Regions from separate parts of the Homo sapiens genome. Here region 2 is linked to region 1. Evidence: promoter capture Hi-C in human tissues and cell types (Jung and others, 2019). All regions are on one chromosome and are shown on one strand. The core of a region is centred on a gene start or on the middle of the fragment in contact, and the rest is flanking DNA. Distances in the headings are between cores, read along the strand shown.

What was found. The method cuts DNA at HindIII sites, captures the fragments that hold promoters and counts their contacts. A contact is called where the count stands out against the background at its distance.
Region 2: a fragment that was not itself captured here is called in contact with the fragment with the promoter of CHD9 in region 1 in 1 of the 25 tissues and cell types used here (spleen).

Annotation. Positions count from the first base shown.
Region 1 is chr16:53,050,277-53,056,627 of GRCh38, forward strand. It overlaps CHD9 (chromodomain helicase DNA binding protein 9), which reads left to right and starts at 4,715. Exons shown (of 39, transcript NM_001308319.2): 1 at 4,715-4,801. CHD9NB (CHD9 neighbor) reads right to left here and starts at 2,621. Exons shown (of 3, transcript NM_001396020.1): 1 at 2,485-2,621. RefSeq lists enhancers at 5,009-5,540, 5,053-5,102. The HindIII fragment of the contact is 13,928 bases long and covers 1-6,351 here.
Region 2 is chr16:53,365,351-53,371,128 of GRCh38, forward strand. It overlaps the pseudogene MPHOSPH10P1. Among named protein-coding and RNA genes, the nearest start is that of RBL2, 66 kb to the right of the region's middle. The HindIII fragment of the contact is 6,033 bases long and covers 1-5,733 here.

The DNA of each region.
Region 1 (6,351 bases), core at 3,465-5,964:
TAGGTGGATGGCTTGAGCTCAGGAGTTTGAGACCAGCCTGAGCAACATGGTGAGATTCTGTCTCTACCAAAAATATAAAAAATTAGCCAGACATGATGGCACACACCTGTGGTCCCAGCTACTTGGGAGGCTGAGGTGGCAGAATCACTTGAGCCTGGGAGGTGGAGGTTGCAGTGAACCAAGATCACACCACTGCACTCCAACCTGAGTGACAGAATGAGACCCCGTCTCAAAAAAAATAAAATAAAATAATTGCTTCCTGGGATTTTTGGAAAGAGTCAATGAGACAGAATCAGTTCATCTGCTATTACACTTCATAACACCTGACAGGGTTTGCAGGTACAATCCAGGACCAGAATGTGACCAGTCTTATTCCTACCAATCATAGACACACTGTGACCTCAAGAGTTAAGTTGCCAGTCAGTCCACAAGCCAGCCTTACAAGACCAAGTGTCCTTCTGGGACGGGTACCCAGGCCCTTTCCCTTTGGTCTCTTTGGCATTTCTCCCTCTTTCCTTCTCTACGCCTTCTGCTGGGGACCTGACACCATCTTGCCCATGACTCCAGTGCCACCATTTCTAGCTCCATCCACTTTAGACCACAGAGGATCCTCACCCTCTTTTTTTTTTGAGACGGAGTCTCGCTCTGTCTCCCAGGCTGGAGTGCAGTCGTGCGATCTTGGCTTACTGCAAGCTCCGCCTCTCGGGTTCACGCCATTCTCCTGCCTCAGCCTCCTGAGTAGCTGGGACTACAGGCGCCCACCACCATGCCCAGCTAATTTTTTGTATTTTTAGTAGAGACAGGGTTTCACCGTGTTAGCCAGGATGGTCTTGATCTCCTGACCTCGTGATCCGCCTGCCTCGGCCTCCCAAAGTACTGGGATTATAGGTGTGAGCCACTGCCTCTGGCCTGATCCTCACCCTCTTTAATGGAGACTCACTCTAGAAGATAAATATTCCCTTTCTTACTAAAAATTAGGTCACATCTCATAACATAATTTTATGAATTTATTTTAAAAAACAAAAGTAAACAAAATTTTCCCTTTGAAGAAAAGGGTGAACAGAACAAGAAAGCAAAAGGGATAAAAATGAGTAAATGTCCAACAATGATAGTCTGGATTAAGAAAATGTGGCACATATACATCATGGAGTACTATGCAGCCATAAAAAATGATGAGTTCATGTCCTTTGTAGGGACATGGATGAAGCTGGAAACCATCATTCTCAGCAAATGATCGCAAGGACAAAAAACCAAACACCGCATGTTCTCACTCATAGGTGGGAATTGAACAATGAGAACACTTGGACACAGGAAGGGGAACATCGCACACCGGGGCCTGTTGTGGGGTAGGGGGAGGGGGGAGGGATAGCATTAGGAGATATATCTAATGTAAATGACAAGTTAATGGGTGCAGCACACCAACATGGCACATGTATACATATGTAACAAACCTGCACATTGTGCACCTGTACCCTACAACTTAAAAGTATAAATATATATATATATATATATATATATATATATATATATATATAATGAGTACCTTGCCTATCCTGTTCCATATATAAAGCACAGCGTCCAGCACATAGTAGGTGCTTAGTAAACAGTAGTGAGGTGTTCAGGGCATGTGCCTTGGAATAAGATAATCCAGATTCACGTTCTGGGTACATTACTTGCTAACTCCTCTACCTAGGGCAAGTTACTTAAACATCGCAAGTCTCAGTTTCTTCGCTGAGAAAGTGGGGAGAGTAACAGTGCCTACTTTGTAGGATTACTGTGAAGATTAAACTAAATTGTCAATCTAAAATCCTTAGTGCATGAGCCAGGTATGGCAGCTTGTGTCTATAATCCCAGCTACTTAGGAGGTTGGGGTGGGAGAAATGCTTGATGCTAGGAGTTCTAGACCAGCCTGAGCAACATAAAAAAAAAAAAAAACAATAAACCCCATCTCTTAAAAAAAAAAGAAATTAAAATTTAAAAATTAGCCAGGCATGGTGGCACATGCCTGCAGTCCCAGCTACTTGGGAGTCTGAGGTGGGAAGATCCCTTGAGCTCGAATTTGTGGCTGCAATGAACAATGATCACCTGGATGACAGAACAAGACCCCATCTCTTAAAGAAAACTGTTAGTGTCTAACACGTTATAAATATTTTATTATTGTTATTTACATACTTCAGCCTACCAAAACTCCTGTTTTCCATGGAGAAAACAGATCTGTTGATAACTCTGCAGTTTCCAGAAACACTGTGATTAGCAGAATGAGAAAAATGCCAGGAGAACTCAGAAGAGAAAGTCACTAGGAAGACTTAATCTCATCAGGTGATGCCAGAATCCAGAGGTTGTAATCTAGGACTTTGCCCAGGCATGCTTTGGGGCACAGTGGTGGGGAGGGAGCTGTTGCAAAGATGGGGCAAGAATGGTCTGGACATGACTCAGACACTTTAAAGTGAAAGAATGGGAAATTGTCTGGCAGCTGGTACTTACCATGGGCAGTCAGCACTCCTCTGACTGATTCACCTTCACCAGGGCACCAGCCTGCAGTGAAGTAGCTGGGGCTGGTTCCTTTTAGTGACACCCACCACCCCTTGCCCTTCCAGGTATTGTCCACAGATGACACCTCCTCCTCCTCCTCCTGCTCCTCCTCCTGCTCTGCCTCCTCCTCCTCCCCCTGCTCCTGCTTCTCCTCCTCTTCCTCCTGCTCCTTCTCCTCCTCCTCCTGCTCCTCCTCCTGCTCTTCCTCCTCCTCCTGCTCTTCCTCCTCCTCCTCCTGCTTCTCCTCCTCTTCTTCCTCCTGCTCTTTCTCCTCCTCTTCCTGCTCCTCCTCTCCTTCTGCTCCTCCTGCTTCTCCTCCTCCTGCTCCTCCTCCTCCACCTGCTCCTCCTCCTTCTCCTCCTCCTGCTCCTCCTCCTTCTGCTCCTTCTTCTCCTGCTCCTCTTCCTCCTGCTCCTGCTTCTCCTCCTTTCTCCTGCTCCTCCTCCTCCTGCTCCTCCTCCTGCTCCTCATCCTCCTTCTCCTCCTGCTCCTCCTTGTCCTCCTCTGCCCTTGATATTCACTTTGACCAGATTACACCAGTACAGAGAGTCCAAAGGTTAAATAGGCACACACTCACACACAAACTCACACTGGGCTAGAACAATGACAGAGCGTCCTGGGGGAGCAGAGTGGGGGCCGGGGGGAGGGGGAAAGGAGGATTGCAGGCCTAACTTTCACAAATCACCTGAAATTTCCACTGAAGGCATTATCTCCAAATGTTGCCACAGAGATAAACTGCCAGGATTACAAGAAAACGTGAAGACGTTCCCATAGAACTCTGTAATGCTTATATCCATCACCAGGAATGTCTGCCCTTGGCGCCCTAAACATAGATTGATTGATTGATTGATTGATTGATTTTGAGGCAGAGTCTCACTCTGTCACCCAGGCTGGAGTGCAGTGGTGCGATCTCAGCTCACTGCAACCTCCTCCTTCCGGGTTCAAGGGATTCTCCCACCTCAGCCTTGGAGTAGTTGGGATTACAGGCTCCTGCCACCACGCCCGGCTAATTTTTGTATTTTTTGTAGAGACTGGGTTTTGCCATGTTGGCTAGGCTGGTCTCAAACTCCTGACCTCAAGCGATCCTCTTGCCTCAGCCTTCCAAAGTGCTGGGATTACAGGCGTGAGCTACGGTGCCTGGCCCTAAATATAGATATTTTTAATAAATCCTCTACTTATCTCACAACGAGCTCAATCGCTTTGCATTAGATCGTTGGGTGTGTTAAAAGTATTCATGTGTTACATTAAATGTGAATTCAACAAAAGCAGAGATTTTTGTGTTTTGTTCTTCATTGTATCCCTTGATTGTAGAAAAGTGGCACATAGTAGGTGCTCAGTTAATCGTTGTTAAATGAAGACATAAATGAAATATAAACCATTAAATGTCCACCATATTTGTAAGCGTTTTGGCATGTCTTCATTGAAAGAATACCAGGCAGCTGGGAGCCATAGTTTACTCCGGTAATCCCAGTGCTTTGGGAGGCTGCAGGTGAGAGGATCGCTTGAGACCAGGAGTTCAAGAGCCACCAGGGCAACATAGAGAGACCTTGTCTCTACAAAAACAAAACAAAACAAAACAAAAAACAAAAAACACAATTCCCTTAAGCCGCCCCTTCCCCTTCCACTGCTCAGAGAAGGCCTTCCAGCAGAGCAGAGCACGAGGTCGCTGGCACACACCCATCCTCCACCAGTCCTGGCCTCTGTAGAGCAAGCCAGCAGAGCAGGCTGTTTCTCTCATTCAGGGACGGTTTAGGGGGTGGCAGGAAAAAATGGTTGCTGATAGGCGAAGGGCCTCCCTGGGTTGGAGAGAACCCCAGCCTCGGATGGTCCCAGCACATTTAAAAGAGAAGCAGTGCCAAAGGTGGGGTGCACTGAAAGCTGCTGGATGAAGGGAAAGATCCTTGTGCTCAGCCCGGAAAACCGGAGGATGGATACCAGGCCGAGGGGTCCCTCCGTGCCCCAAGAGAAAGTTCACCAAGTTTAGATCCCAGTGCCCCGCAGCGGGTGAAGGTGGTCCCGCCCCAGGCCGGATCTGGCCACAGGGCTGGCGGCGCGCTGGAAAACCGCCCACGTGGGAAGAAGCCCTGGCTGCATTTCCGCCCTGGACTGCGCTCCCGCCTGCCAGCGCGGTCCCTGCGCAGCCGCCCCGCGCCCACTAGGTGGCGCCTGCGCTCTAGTGGGCGCTTCACAGGCGCAGCGACAGCGACAGCGACAGCTCGAACCTGAGTCCCAGGATTCCGGGGACTGGAGGGCAGCGCCGGCAGCCAAGGTAGGATTCCTGAGCCCCGGGCGTCTCCCTGGAGCCTCTGAGGTCGGGGTGGACAGCGGGGCGGCCGCTGGGCACCGCTTGCGGTCTGCAGAGATAACCGGAGGAGTCGGGGCGGCAGCACGTGTTGTAGCCGTGGGGGGGACCCAGAGACCCGCAGCCTCGGAGCTGGGCCTAGAGCAAGGCAGAGCACCAGGTCGCTGGCACGCTCGCATCCTCCCCAGCCCTCGCCTCCCAGAGCATGCCCGAATCCCCAAGCCGGGCGTCCTCGAAGCGGAAAGCAGCCACTGTCGCCCAGAGCCACTCCAGGGTGGCAGCCGAGTGCTGATAAGGTCCAGAGCACCACTTCTTAAACTTGTCTGCCCGTTGGCGTTGCTTGGGAAGCATTAAAAAAATACCGATGCCCTAGTTCCACCCCCGCCCCCCCCCAGAGACTCAGATGTGATTGGTCTGGGTGGGGGACTGGACATCTGGGTATTAAAATGTTTGCAAGAGATTCCAGCTGGCAGCCAAATTTGAGGACCCTTGATCTAAGGAGTTGGAGAAAAACGGAGGACATTTGTTTGTTCTAACCCAGAATGCTGATGATTCCCTCCTCCTCCTATTCCTCCAGTTCGCCCTCCTCCTCCTTTCTCATGTGCCTTTTAAGCAGGAAATGCCTCTGCCTTTGTACTGTCAAACCCAAGATAACAAACTAACCATCCCCCACCCCCCACAGTAGGGCTGGTTCTGAAAGGGTTGAACTCGAAAGTGGACAAGGAACAGAAAGACACCAGTGTGGAATGTGAGCGAAGACTCTTAGGGGTTTATGGGTAGGAAGGGGGTTCCTCCCCACCCTGATCCCAGAGAAGATCAGGAGACTGGCTGGAGCTGTCTTCCTCATTTTGGCAAACCTAGCTGATTAGGCAGTGAGAGGCCTTATAACGAGCCTTTTTTACAACTAGTAAAAGGGCCCTTTTACAACTAGTAAAAATGAGCCCTTATGTTTGTTTGTTTTATAGAGATAGGGCCTCACTATATTCCCCAGGATGGTCTCAAACTCCTAGGCTCAAGCCATTCTCCAGCCTCGGCCTCCCAAAGTGCTGGGATTATAGGCATGAGCCGCTGCGCCCCGCTGACCCCTTATGTTTATATAACAGCAGTGTTACTAACATGGGCATAGATTCCCCCCCATAGGCAGCCCTTCCTTTGTGACCTTGGAAACTCACTGAACCATCCTCAGCTTCAGTTTTTGTATCTGCAAAATGGGTGTGAAAATCGGGTTGCCTTGGGAATTATTCACAATAAAAGCTACTGTTTACTAAGGGTTCACCCTATGCTAGAGGCTTTCTGTGCAGGGCCAAGTTAGACTCCTGACCATAACTTCCACGGTAGAACTATGAATACTGCATTTGATAGCCAAGGAAACTGAGGCTCAGAGAGGCCAATGATCTTGCTCGAAGTTATATAATTAATTAATAAGAAGCATGTCCCATATTTGAACCCAGGCAGTCTGCTCTTGAGCTCAGGTGCAAAAGAACAATACTCTGCTGTTTCCCTTGTTGACCAGGACA
Region 2 (5,778 bases), core at 1,467-3,966, 310 kb after region 1:
CTTAATGGGTATAAAAAAGAAGGCAATGAGATGACCAGGGTTTCAAGTTAAGAGTTCAAAATTTAATCAGTGGACAGTGACAGGATGCAAGTCTTCTAAACAGATTACTGCAAGGAAGCTGATTATAATCTATACAGTAGGTATCATTAGTGTACTGATGTTAAATGTTTTGGGTGGATTAATGGTATTGTGATTATATAGGAGAATATCCTGGTTCTTAGGAGATATCTGCAAAAGTACTTAACAGTGAAATGCTATGATACTGGCAACTTACTTTGAAATGATTCAGGGGGAAAAAGGGCAAATATACAATCTTCCATATGGGGAAAAGAGAACACAAATATGACAAAATGTGAACTAGTGAATCCAGTTGAATAGAATACAGATGTTCACTGTATGATTTTATCAACTTTTCTGTGTTTGCAAGTTTTTAAAATAAAAAGTTAAGGGAAAAGAAACATCGCCCCAAATCTTTCTATGAAATGGAACCACAGAAAAAGCATAGAAGTGAACTCTTTGCAGAAGAGGGCACTGTACCCATCCAGACAGCATGGTTAAAGTGCAGGGTCTCCTCCAGGAAGCTATTCTCTGGTCTCTTCTGTGCTGTCACTTCCCCCCGACGCTGCCAAGGCTTTTTTCTAATAACTCTTTTTCTAAAGATGTAATTTTTTTCATTCATCTAAGAAAGAGACAAAAAAATTAGTATACATTTAGAAAATAAAATTATACTTGTGTAAAAACAAAAAATACTTTGAAAAGTGGGGAAGCAAAAAATGTACTGTTCTATAATTCTGTTCTGTTCTTACCATCTTTTTATTCTGCCAATGACCTCCTATTCCTGCTGCCTATGGTGAGGTGAGCTGCAAATAATTTCTTATCCTCATTTATTTAAAATTTCATGTTTATAATATACTAAACTCCCTCAGAAGCATTTGGGTTTATTTCTGGGCTCTATTCTATTCAAGTGATCTATCTGTTCACAAGCCACTATCAATTTTGATTATTAGAGCATCCTAAAGTTAAGTAATTCTTTTTTTTTTTTTTTTTTTAGATGGAGTCTCTCACTCTGTTGGCCAGGCTGGAGTGCAGTGGCATGATCTCAGCTCACTGCAAGCTCCTCCTCCCGGGTTCAAGCCATTCTCCTGCCTCAGCCTCTGGAGTAGCTGGGACTACAGGCACCCGCCACCACGCCTGGCTAATTTTTTGTATTTTTAGTAGAGATGGGGTTTCATCATGTTAGCCAGGATGGTCTTGATCTCCTGACCTCGTGATCCACCCACCTTGGCCTCCCAAAGTGCTGAGATTACAGGCGTGAGCCACCACACCTGGCCAAGTAATTCTTTGATTAGGATATTAGTATTTGATGGAGTCTGACCCTTTTGACTTTAAACTCAAATTCTTATTATCTCTAACTTCTAAAAGACAACAATTATGACTTCAGTGTATAAAATGCCAGCTTTTTCAGCTAACTTACAGAATTCTCTTATTTTCCTAATATTGATTCAGTTTATCCTTTCGGTTTTCTCTCCAAACACTAATGTTTTCATTTTAGTATCCCTAATCTTTTTTTTTTTTTTTTTTTTTTTGAGACAGAGTCTCGCTCTGTTGCCCAGGCTGGAGTACAGCTGCACTATCTCAGCTCATTGCAACCTCCATCTCCCAGGCTCAAGCAGTCCTCTCACTTCAGACTCCCAAGTAGCTGGGACACAGGCACATGTAACGCGCCCAGCTAATTTTGTATTTTTTTGCAGAGATGAGGTCTCACCATGTTGCCTGGGCTGGTCTCAAACTCCTGAGCTCAAGTGCTGAGAGCTCCTGAGCTCCCAAAGTGCTGGGATTACAGGTGTGAACCACTGCTCCTGGAAGTTTTCCTAATCTCTTATCTTTTGTAGTTGCACTGGCTTATGTGGCTATTAACTGTTAGTGTTAATTAACAGGGGTAACTGTAATACTGGACATTTTGTCTTATTCCTGATCTTAAAGGGATGTTTGTAGAATTTCACCCATCATGCATGATGGCAGCTTTTGGCTAGATGTATTTATAACCCACTAGGAGTTAAAAAAAAATCAGAAATAAATATTGAATTTTATCAAATGTCTTTCTAACATATATGGAGGGAACCGTGTATTTTCTCCTTAACGTCTTGCAACCAGGAATCATATCAGATCTTCTAATAGTGATTCAAAAGGATAAGGTTCATGTGGTTGTGTGGCATAATTTTCCCACTGTGCTATGTTTGCATCACTAGTCATGAATGAGAGAGTGTGTGTGTTTTAACGCCACCTTTGTCAGGTTTGGGTTTTCATGTTCTAACAGTTTGAAAAGAAAAAAGTTTGAAAGTTCTATTTTATTCTTTATCTGTGGAAATTGCAATAAATTATTTGTGATTTACTGAAAATTTCACTTGAAGGTCTGATATAATTTCAAAGCAAAACCAAACCTTTCTTTCTTTTTTGTGGGGGAAGGGTGGGAGGAGTGGGATGGGAGGACACTAACTCATTGATACTTTATGGTTTTTTTCCCCCTTTAGAATTTATTTTCTTGGGACAATCTGACAACGATGAATTTAATTTAGATTCGCAGATTTTAAAAATAATTCTTTTGATATTCTTGGTATAGTTTATTTGCCTGTTCTCCAGCTCTGTTGCCCAGGCTGGAGTGCCTAGTCCAATCATAGCTCACTGCAGCCTTGAACTGCTGGACTCAAGTGATCATCCCCGATAAGCCTCTCGAGTAGCAGAGACTATAGGCTCATGCTACCACACCCAGCTAATTTTTTAAATTTGTAGTGGAGACGGGGTTTCACCGTGTTGTCCATGCTGGTCTTGAACACTTGGGCTCAAGCAATCCTCCCTCCTCAGTCTCCCAAAGTGCTGGGATTACAAGTGTGAGCTACTGTGCCTGGCACTATTCTCATTTTTATTATAATAAAATTTTGGGATTGGATAAATAATATAGCCAAATTATTGGAGCCAGACTATATCTACTAAAATTAATGAGATTTCACTTGTCTGAAATCATGACATACTTTGGGAAGATATGTTTGTCCTGGTATTAATTAAAATTACAGCTATTTGACATTCACCAAAATCTGTGGAGCACCTTAAAGACATAGGCGGTATCCTCTAGAGCAGTCAAAACAGTTACAAGAAGAGGCTCTCAGGACAGCTTTGTCAGGAGAGACAGGCTATACATATAAAGACACAAGGGAGAGAGAAAAGAAACAACTATTTTACACGCAGGCCCCAAATTGAAAGCTATAGGCTGGGTAACGCAGGCACTGATTTCTGCAAATCAGATGCTTTCCATATGGCATCTCTATAAGATGTGCTTTTGCTTTAGAGAGTAGCAGCAAGATCTTCAGTTTTCTGTTTGTTTGTTTGTTTGTTTGTTTGAAGACAGGATCTTGCTCCACCACCCAGGCTGGAAAGCAGTGATGTGATCATAGCTCACTGCAGCATCAACCTCCTGGGCTCAAGTGATCCTCCCGCCTCAGCCACCTGAGTCGCTGGATTACAGGCATACACCACCATGCCCCACTAATTTTTTTATTTTTTGTAGAGACAGGGCCTCACTATGTTGCCCAGGCTGGTCTTGAACTCCTGAGCTCAAGTGATCCTCCCGCTTCAGACTACCAAAGTGCTAGGATTACAGGCATCAACCACCACACCTGGCCAAGATATTTGTTTTCAAAGGATGGTTAATAGTTACAACAAGAAAAATAGGGAAGGCTAGGGCACAGTGGCTCACGCCTGTAATCTCAGCACTTTGGGAGGCCAAGGCAGGAGGATCACCTGAGGTCAGGAGTTCGAGATCAGCCTGGCCAACACGGTGAAACCCCATGTCTTCTAAAAATACAAAAATTGGCCAGGCATGGTGGAATGCACCTTTAATCTCAGCTACTCAGGAGGCTGAGGCAGAATCACTTGAACCCGGGAGGTGGAGGCTGCAGTGAGCCGAGATCACGCCATTGCACTCCAGCCTGGGTGACAGAGCAAGACTCCATCTCAAAAAAAAAAGAAAGAAAATAGGGAAGATTTGTTAGTAGTCTGTGAGTTCCACAATCATGCGAAGCATATTAAAAATTCCTTAAATTCCTAATTACCTTTTCCTGTCTTTTTTCAAAAGAAGATTAACTTCATCAGAATTTTTCTTTACATTTAAAACACCTGCATCTTCAGTTGCCTCATCATCCGGCAAAGCAAAAGTCACTCTTTTCAAGCTTTCTTTACATTGTTTACTGTCTTCTCTTTCTTCCAGGTGATCACCTTCATCCCTACACTACCAAAACTCTTATAAAAAGAAATATATTGTTTTCCATTAGAAAAACAAAAGGAAACATATTTTCCCTTAACAAAGTTCCTCTTTTATATGCCTAATGCAACCAGATACTTAGAACTTCCAAAATCATTCAGGTATTAAGGAAGAGAAGCTATCATTTAAGTGAAATGCTATGTAAGAAACAAAAAGGGTCCAATATATAGAAAATAAATTATTCATCAATCTATAATACAAACCTCTTATCTCACAAAAATAACAGGATTTTGGGGGCACAAAACCAAATCAAAGTTCCTGGTAAGAAAGGTTTGATTGCTACTGTCAGTAATATTTTTCTTCATTAAATGATCTCTAATGTCCGTTTAAATCCAGTGACTTTCCTCTGGCTATCTTGAGAAGATCTGATAGGAGAGTATCTAACTTCTTAAAACAAACATATGTGAAAACCACAAATACAAACACTGATTGGGCAATTCCAGCTCACAAAGTAAAGGATGTTTCAAAATACTCACATTTCAGAAATGCTTCCTTCTTCTGCTTCTTCTTCAGCAATTTCATCATCTTGTTTGAACCCAGCTCATCATCATGATCACTTGCTATGTCTTCATCACTTTCAACTGGATCAAAAAAATCTTTGTTGTTCACATTTCTGGAACTTTTACCTGACTAAAATAAAAAGATTTTTAAAACTATTAATTAGGAATAGAAAAATACATCATTAACACATGCATATATATATACTGTATGTCTATATTACTTTCTAACTTAACACTACAAGTCAAAAATAGTTACTAGGTGAAATTGGCAACTAAAAACACTACCATAAAACTATTATAAGAACAACTGGAACATAAACTGAATGGAAGTACAGATTCATTTATAACTGATAAAACAAAGCATAATATATCTTAGCTCTAAACCTTCTAACTACAATTACATCTCTCCTAGAAAAACAGAACAAAAGCTAATTTGAGGAGGAGGAAAGTGCTCTCTCCTTTCTCAAACTTAACCTTAAGTTTTTTACTTCCAAACAGTCCCCTTTTATCTTCATCAGAATCAATATCTTCAAAAAAAAATCAGTATCTTCCACCTCATCATCATTATCATCTTTTCGTTCCTCTTCTTTTTCTCTGTTTTCTAAATAAGCCTCCATTTCAGAGAGTTGGAAGAATTTCTCGTCTATTATGGACTTTTCTCTTGGTTTTCCATGTCCTGTGTTTTGCACCTTGCTCTGCTGTTCCAATTTGCTGATATCAAAGTCAAGGTCAGAATCCTCATCACTGAAAACTGGGCTTTTCCTCAGCTCAAATTTGCTTGAGTTTCTAGCTTTCTTGCCCACTTCAGGATTGTCACCACCCATATCTGACACTTCCTCTTCCTCCTGTAAATCTTCTAGGTCCTCCTGGCCACCAGTCTCTGTCTCTGAACCATCCTCTTCACACTCCTGTTCTTCACTCTCTGGGAGAAGACTGATGTCTTCATCTTTGTTTCACTAACTG